Regions from separate parts of the Homo sapiens genome. Here regions 2 and 3 are each linked to region 1. Evidence: promoter capture Hi-C in 16 types of primary human blood cells and fetal thymus (Javierre and others, 2016). All regions are on one chromosome and are shown on one strand. Each heading gives the region's core, a stretch centred on a gene start or on the middle of the fragment in contact. The rest is flanking DNA. Distances are from core to core; before and after follow the strand shown. Region 1 holds the start of COA5 (cytochrome c oxidase assembly factor 5). Region 2 overlaps TSGA10 (testis specific 10). Region 3 overlaps TSGA10 (testis specific 10).

Region 1 (2,726 bases), core at 70-2,569:
CTTGCCGCATCCCTGGAATTCAAGACTCCGTTCCCCTGCACTAAGGAATTCACTGAAGTACTCGGTAACATCTTCCTAGATGGAAGAAAAACATTTCTTTTACACGTATTCTGAAGAAACATTTGGCTACCGACACTCCTCTTCTGAGTTATTTGGCAGGGAGGTCACTTTCCATGTTCTTCCCAACCCTAGAGAAAGGCCAGGAGTCAAAAGCAAATGCAGTTAGTTCTGAGGCGGGTCTTGGGGCTTGGGAACCGCAGACTGCAACCTCAGGCAAGGGCAACAGCCCACCCTTCTGAATCACCTAATAACACTTATCCAGGGGCAGCTACCATTACAGAGACAGGGATGATGTGACTGCCCCATGACTCCGAGGATAGTGATAGAGCCAAGATTGGAAATCTGACTCGAAATTCCGTGCTCTTAACCACCAAGCTTTTAAGAAAATGCCTAAGAAAGCAGTTTCAGCCGGTTAGAACAGTGTTACTGAAGAGGTCAAATAAATGGCCTATTCACACAGATCCATCAGCGCACTGCCAGCAAGCTTCTCGGTCACTAGAATGAGATTAAAAAACCAAGAAAAACTCCGATCCCTAGTGTTTTACATCCGGAATAGTTCAGCAGAGGGAGCGGTAGCGTCGGAGTCCAATCCAACCGGTCCGAGCTCCGGGGAACGCCGGCCACTGCCCGGCTGCCCGTCTCCCCTCCACTTCGCAGGCCCCCCAGACGCCGGCAGGGTCTGGCCGAGCCCAGCTGCTCCCTCCCTGCCCGGGGCCGCGGGTACGGCTGCCAGATTTAGCAAATAAAAACACAGAATACCCAGCTCCATTTGGATTTCAGACAGGCCACGAATAAGGTTTTAGTATGCCTACATCCCACGCAACATTTCGGACATGCTTATACTAAATGCTCTTTCTTTATCTACGATGCAAATGTAACTGGGCGTCCTTTCATTTTAGCCGCAACTCTATCGCCGGCCGAGGGGCCGGACGCCGACATGGTCACTGCCAGGCCGCAGCGACGTCAGGCCGCAAGCTGTCGGGATTAAATGGCCCCCGGCGCGAGCCCGGGCCGCGGGAGGGCAGAGTGGTCCTCAGGCCTCACCTGGAGTCCTGCTACAGCCTCGACCCACGTCCGAACCAGCCCACCACCTCCTCCCAGCAGCCGACCCCAGCCGCCACCGGGCGGGCTTCCCTTCCCTCAACGGAGCCGGCCCTTGGGGCGCGCCGCGTCACGGGAACCGACTTCCGCCGCGGACGCGCCACCTCTCGGCCCCCGTAGTCCTCGGCCCTACCGCCGCGGCCCGCCGGAAGTTGTTGCCGCTGGCTTCCGGTCCCCTGAGACTGGGGCCTCGCTCGCTCCCGACCCGGTTGCAAGTGTTGCGGTGGGAGAAAGTCGCGTCCGCATCGGAGGGGAAGCGCCGTCATGCCTAAGTATTATGAGGACAAGCCGCAGGGCGGCGCGTGCGCGGGCCTGAAGGAGGACCTGGGCGCGTGTCTGCTGCAGTCGGACTGTGTGGTCCAGGTAGCGCGGCCGGGCGCTCCCGGTGGTGACGACCCCTGTCCCAGGCAGGCCTGGCTCGGCGGAGGGCAGCGGGTCGCCCGCGGCGGCGGTTGGAGTTAACCATCCCGGGCGTAGGTCACAGCTCGGGCTCACTGAACGTGCGCAGATCCACTGAGCTGTCGGAGCCCCAGTTCCCTGTGGGGTTAAATCGGAGATAACGATAAACGCACCCTGTCGGGTTTTTGTAAAGGTTAACCCATTTCAGTTCACGAAGCCTTTATTGAATGCTAGCACTCTACTAGGCTTTGGAGACATAAAGGAGAATAAGCCAGGTTTCTTGCCTGCCTAGAAATGATAATCTGTAGAATTAATGATTCCAGAGAGTTGCGTAAACCTGGTACACTGCCCTGGCCAGTAGTGTCTCCTGCCTGTTCAGTTGTGACAATGTGTGCTCAGTTTGACTTGTGTTGATGTGAATTTGTTTCTGAGTTACAGTTCTCTGCATTCTTGGATGTTAAGTTGTAAAAATAAGGCAACTCCATATTTTCACGATTTCGTATCTTGCTTCCCCTACACTCTTCCTTCACTCCCCGGCTACAGACACAGGTCTCCTCAGCACCCTCTTGGAATGCACTGAAACATGTAGTGAGGTTCACAGTGGACCTGAGTTCTGGATTAGAGCTCAAGTAAAGCACAAGTGCCTTTTCCAATTGCAGAGGCCCGACGAGAGGGCATTCAATTGTGTGCAATTGTCTTTGCATTGGGGGATGTAGTTTCAGAAAGTTGCTGTTATTTCAGAGAAAAGATTACCCCCAAATGGACATCCACTGTAAGACTGTACCAGTGTTTCTACCGAGTCACAATTTGTTTGGTTCACTGATTTTAGCAGTCAGCCATTCTCGCCTCCCAATGTCTAGTAAAACTTGAGTTATTATAAATTTAAGAGATTATCTCGCCCAACTTCCTTATATAAATGAGGAAACTGAAGTACCGTTGTTTTCAGGCTCCCCTGTCCAGGGCTGTGTCCCTTCTGCCCCTTACTCACTGGTGCTGCCGTTCAGCCAGCTCCTGGTAAATGCCTCTTAAGTGGCAGGCATGGTACCTGACACTGGTGATAACGAAGATGAATCAGTAACAGTCACTACCCATGTAAGCTTGGTGTCATGGGAGAAATAGACATCTAAGGGTCTAAATTCCTGCCATAAGACTGTAAGCATTTATTA
Region 2 (2,726 bases), core at 114-2,613, 470 kb before region 1:
GGGTCATTTTAAAAGAAAGGAAATTTATTTTAGCTTATGGTTCTGCAGGCTGTACAGGAAGCATGGTGCTGGCATTTGCTTCTGGTGAGGGCACGAGACAGCTTGCCATCTTGGTGGAAAGCAAAGGGGGAGCCAGTGCATCACATGACAAGGGCAGGAGCAAGAGAAAAGGGGAGGTCCCAGATTTCTTTGAACAGCCAGATCTCATGTGAACTAACTAGCGAGATCTCACTTATCACCAAGGGGATAGTGTTAAACCATTCATGAGGGACCTGCCCCCGTGATCCAGTCATCTCTTCCCCAGGCCCCACTTCCAACATTGGAAATCACATTTCAACATGAGATTTGTAGCGGACAAACATCCAAACCATATCAGATGCATTCCTTAACAGCCTTGGCTGCATATTAGAATCAAATGAGGAGCTTTAAAAAACAATAGTGATGTTAATTCTCATTCCCAGAGATTTTAATTTAATTGGCATAATTGTGCAGCCTAACTCTAGGACTTTTTTTTGTTTTGCTGCTTTAAAATAATTTCATAATTTGTAGGAAGTTACAAAAATATACAGATAAGTCGATGTATTCCCGTCACCCACTTTCCCACAATGATTACATTTTATATCACTATAGTACAATATCAAAGCCAGAAAATTGACATTGGTACAATGTGTGTGCATAGTTCTGTCATTTTATCACATATGTAGTTTCATGTAACTACTACCACATTCAAGACACGGAAAGTCTATTACCGCAAAAATATCCCTCATGCTACTCCTTTACAGTCACATCTCCTCTTCCCCCACCATGATCCCTAATATCTGACACTAATCTGTTGTCCAACTCTGTAATTTTGTCATTTCAAGAATGTTATAGGAAGAGTCATACAGCCATGATTTTCAAGATTCGCTTGAAAACTCAGAATAATGCCATTGAGATCCAGCCAAGTATTAAATTTTGCTACTTTTTAATATTGCTGAGTAACATTCCATAGTATGAATGTACCATAATTTGTTCAGCTATTCACCTGGTGAGGGACATTTTGATTTTTTCCAGGTTTTGGCTGTTAAAAATAAGGTAGACCATATGCATTTAATATAATTATTGGTAGGGCTCAATTCTCCATGTTATTTTTTGGGGGTGTTTTTCGTTTGTTTCTTTCCTCTGTTTCTCATGTCTCTGTTTTTGTTTTCCTGCCTTTTCATGGATTACTTGACATTTTTTAGAATCCCATTTTTGATATCTGTAGTATTTTTGAGTGTCTATAGATTTTTCAGTGGTTGCTCTGTGAATTGTACTTACTTATCACGATCCACTGGTGTCACATTTTATCAGTTTGCATAAAGTATAGAAATCTTGTCTCCTTTTAAGTCCTTTTATCCTCCCCCATTTATAATTGTCTTAATAGATACAGGTTAATACCTCTTTAGTCTTGGATTTCATCTTTTATTAGGTATTATTTTGTTGAATATTGTCTTTATTCTTCCCTACTGGGATTTTGATTTGGTAAATATTGGACCTTCTTATTCTGTCTTTTATGTCTGTTAACCTCTATTTTGTATTTTTTCATTGTTTTATTTGTGCTCTAATATAGGACCTCTGATCTGTTTTTTTCCCCAGTTTACCAGTTATCTCTTTCACAGTGTCTATTCTGTATTTTTAACTTGTCCACTGAGTTTTGTAATCTTTAAAATTTTGATGTTAGTTTAATTTTGTGAAGTTCTATTTGGTTCTTTTCCAAATTTGTTGATTATTTTTTTCTTTATATATCCTATTATTTTATGTGTTTGTATTTAAACACATGTATTTCTAAGTTTCTATTTGATAGTGCTGTAGTCTGAAGTTCTTAGGGATCTAATTTAGTTTGTGTGTCTTTTGACTCCCACTAAGGTTGGATTGTTTCTTGATGTATTTTTAAATTTTGAATTATGAGATCCTTTTCCATAGGCCTTTGTCTGGGGTTAGTTCTGTGCTTGGGTTGAGAGCATGCCTCCAGAGTTTTGCAAGGGGTTCCTGATTATATGACCAATCGGGAACCAAATTTTATTTTGATGCTTAGATTGAGATTAAGACTCTTTGTTGTGTTATACCCAAGCGAGTTAGAGAAAACGCCACACTTTGAGACGAATTAAGAGTCCTTTATTAAGCCGGCGGCCAAAGAGACGGCTAACGCTCAAAATTCTCTCAGCCTCGAGGAAGGGGCTTGATTAACTTTATACCTTAGTTTAGGAAGGGGAGGGGAGCTCAAATGCAATAATTCTACAGAAGTAAAAACATGCAAGAATCAAAAAAACAAATGGTTACAGAGAGATTAACAATTTAAAAGGCAAATGGTTACAAAAAAAAGCAACGGAACCAGGTGCGGGGCTCTAAATCCTTTGTTAGATATGGATGCTATGCTGGACACAGACTCAAGGCTTTATGTTGTTATCTTTTTGAGCAAAATCCTGGGAACTTCACACATTGTTTGTTCCAGTACCTTATCAGTTAATTTGGCTCCTTTGAAATGCTGAGGGTCTGCTTACACAGGTTAACTCCTTGAGGAAGGGGGTCGGGTAAGGAGCCCTTAATGTCTTGTAAATCAAGGGGCCAAATGGAGTTTGTCCGGCTTTCCCAGCTAAGGGAGAGTCTTATTTATATGGGAAACAAGGCTAGGTAGTTAAGGAGACAAAAAGGGAAAATTTAAAAATAGAGTTAGTAAAAAACAAGGTTAGGCATTACAGTTGTTA
Region 3 (2,726 bases), core at 80-2,579, 450 kb before region 1:
CATGCTAACCATTCTCCTTATACTTTGATTCTTCTACAATCTCTTATCTACCCTACATCCAGAACAATCATTAGCATTTGTTAAAATTAGAAACTATTTCAAACATACCATAAAAGTGCAAAAGTAACAAAACAGATAAACATATCCCCAGCTCCCACATGTAAGGATACTAACATTTTGCCATGTTTGCTTCAAATGTCTCCTTGTTTAAAGAAATAAAACATTACAGATAAAACTTCTCTCATCCTTTTCCCTCCTACCTCCCTAGTTGCTGGTGTGCATAACTTTCCTGTCAGTGTGTCTAACTCCTTTGCATATGTTTATACTTTTTCTACAATCTTACACCCACAAATAATGTATAATGTTATTTGGTATGTTTTGGTTTTTATTTAAGTGAAAACAAACATAGTTGGAGATATTCATTTGCAACTTGCCCTCTTTGCTCAATATTATAATTTTGACACATCTATTTTGATATATATATAGTGTACTGCTTTACTCAAACAGTTGCATATATTCATTGTATAAATATTCCCTTTTTAAAATTCATTCCCATATTGAAGGAAAGTTAATTTTTTTTCACTTTTTTCTGTGATAAAACACTGCAACAAACCTTTTACATTTCTCCTTGACTACATGTTTCCCTATATTTATGCCTGGAAGTGAATTTTAAAAAGCTATATGCCTGGAGTAGATCCAAGATATGTGCAATTTCAGCTCTTCTAAGTTTTTGTCAAATTGCTCTCTAAAGTGTCATTCTGCCATAAGAAATCCTGAGTTATTTTCTCAAATGTGAATCAATACTTGATATTGTCAGACAATTTTTTCCATACTTTTTGTCTTGTGCTTCCTTGATTGCAAGTGAAATTGAGGACCTTTTCATGTTTCTTTGCCATTTAGGATTCTTCCTCTATGAACATTTTCTTGAATTTCTCTTGAATGAAATTTTTGTAAACTTTGGCCATTTTTCTATTGCATAGCTTATCTTTTTCATATATATATATTTTTTTGAGATGGAGTCTCGCTCTGTCGCCAGGCTGGAGTGCAGTGGCGTGATCTTGGCTCACTGCAACCTCCGCTTTCCAGATTCAAGTGATTCTCCTGCCTCAACCTCCCAAGTAGCTGGGACTACAGGTGCGCACCACCCTGGCCAACTAGTTTTTTTTTTGTATTTAGTAGAGATGGGGTTTCACCATGTTGGCCAGGCTGTTCTCGATCTCTTGACCTCATGATCCACCCACCTTGCCCTCCCAAAGTGCTGGGATCACAGGCCTGAGCCACCACACCCTGCCTTCATATTGATTTTTAACGGAATTCTCTATGTATTCTTGATAATAATCCTCTTAAAGATATTACAATTATATTGTCCTTGTCTGTGGCTTGTCTTTTCACCTTCCTTGCAGTATAAACAGACATGTTCAGTTCTGATATACTCAGAATTATTATCAATATTTTCCTATATAGTTTATACTTTTATGTCTTCTTTAAGAAATCCTATACAATCCCAAGGCCAGAGAGATATTTTCCTATATTTTCATTTAAAAGTTCTTCTAAATGTTTGAAAGTATGTGAAATTTTGCCATTTACATTTAGGACTTTAACCTGCTTGAGATTGATTTTGTGCAGTTCGAAGTAGACATATAATTTTTATTTTTGTGAATAGATATCCGTTGTCCTTTCTTCTCTGAAATATAAGTCAAGTCTACTTTGTCATAAAAATAAGTTCCCATACATTCTGCTCCATTGGTCAATTTATCCCCTTGTCAATAACACACTCTTGTAGCTATTATAATTTTATGTTGAGTCTTGATATCTGGAAGAATTAATGTTCCCTCAAATTATCTGGACTGTACTTGGTCCTTATTAACCTGTCTCAGATGAATTTTAGAATAAATGTATCAGATTTCATGATTTTATTTCTTTTCTATGCATTGAAGACTGGAAATTTCTATTTTTTTGGGTGCAGCCACCTGCAGCCCACAAGTTTTGAGATAATCCTTTCATTGCCATTCAGTTTTTAATATCATCTCGTTTCATTATGATTTATTTTTAATTACTAAAGTTTGTTTGTCTGTTTGTTTGAGACAGAGTCTCACTCTGTTCCTAGGCTGGAGTGCAGTGGTACAATCATAGCTCACCGCAGCCTCCAATTCCTGGGCACAGGTGATCCATCTGTCTCAGCCTCCAAGTGGCTAACACTACAAGTGTGAGTCACCACACCCAGCTAATTTTTAATATTTTTGTAGCAATGGAGTCTTACTATATTGCCCAAGCTGGTCTTGATCTCCTGGCCTCAAGTGATCCTCCCACCTCAACCTCCCAAAGTGCTAGGATTAGAGGCATGAGCCACCACACTTGACCTGAAGTTTTAAAAAACTTTCCAATGTGCAGGGGACTTGAGGTTATTAGTCTATTTTTACTTTGTTGTGTCTAATATCTTATTGTCTAATGTTTCTAATATTGTGATCAGATAAAATGGCTTATGATAATTAATTCTTTGTTATCTGCTAAGAATTGCTTAGTGGCAGATTATGTAATCAATATTTGATAATATTCTACATGACCTTGAAAAGCATCTGTGCTCACTTCTTGGTGGACACATATATGTATGTTATATATATTTACAGATTAGGCTTGTTAATAGTGTCAGTCAAGTCTTATAAATCCTTACTATATTTGTATTCTTGATCTCTCAAATACTGAAAGACATGTTAAAATCTTCCTCT

What was found. Contacts are between HindIII fragments. The CHiCAGO score rates a contact against its expected background, and 5 or more counts as called.
Region 2: a contact is called between a fragment that was not itself captured here and the fragment with the promoter of COA5 in region 1, in 1 of 17 cell types (megakaryocytes). The highest score is 5.1, in megakaryocytes.
Region 3: a contact is called between a fragment that was not itself captured here and the fragment with the promoter of COA5 in region 1, in 10 of 17 cell types (erythroblasts, non-activated CD4 T cells, M2 macrophages and 7 more). The highest score is 8.7, in erythroblasts.

Annotation. Positions count from the first base shown.
Region 1 is chr2:98,607,105-98,609,830 of GRCh38, reverse strand. COA5 (cytochrome c oxidase assembly factor 5) reads left to right here and starts at 1,319. Exons shown (of 3, transcript NM_001008215.3): 1 at 1,319-1,524. The coding sequence starts at 1,426. UNC50 (unc-50 inner nuclear membrane RNA binding protein) reads right to left here and starts at 1,242. Exons shown (of 6, transcript NM_014044.7): 1 at 1,105-1,242; 2 at 1-75. The coding sequence starts at 71. RefSeq lists a silencer at 1,015-1,114 and an enhancer at 1,178-2,167. The HindIII fragment of the contact is 2,113 bases long and covers 547-2,659 here.
Region 2 is chr2:99,081,886-99,084,611 of GRCh38, reverse strand. All of the region lies in intron 10 of TSGA10 (testis specific 10), which reads left to right. Among named protein-coding and RNA genes, the nearest start is that of C2orf15, 58 kb to the left of the region's middle. RefSeq lists an enhancer at 2,055-2,726. The HindIII fragment of the contact is 6,735 bases long and covers 1-2,726 here.
Region 3 is chr2:99,062,089-99,064,814 of GRCh38, reverse strand. The region is part of intron 16 of TSGA10 (testis specific 10); the gene reads left to right. Among named protein-coding and RNA genes, the nearest start is that of C2orf15, 78 kb to the left of the region's middle. The HindIII fragment of the contact is 7,108 bases long and covers 1-2,726 here.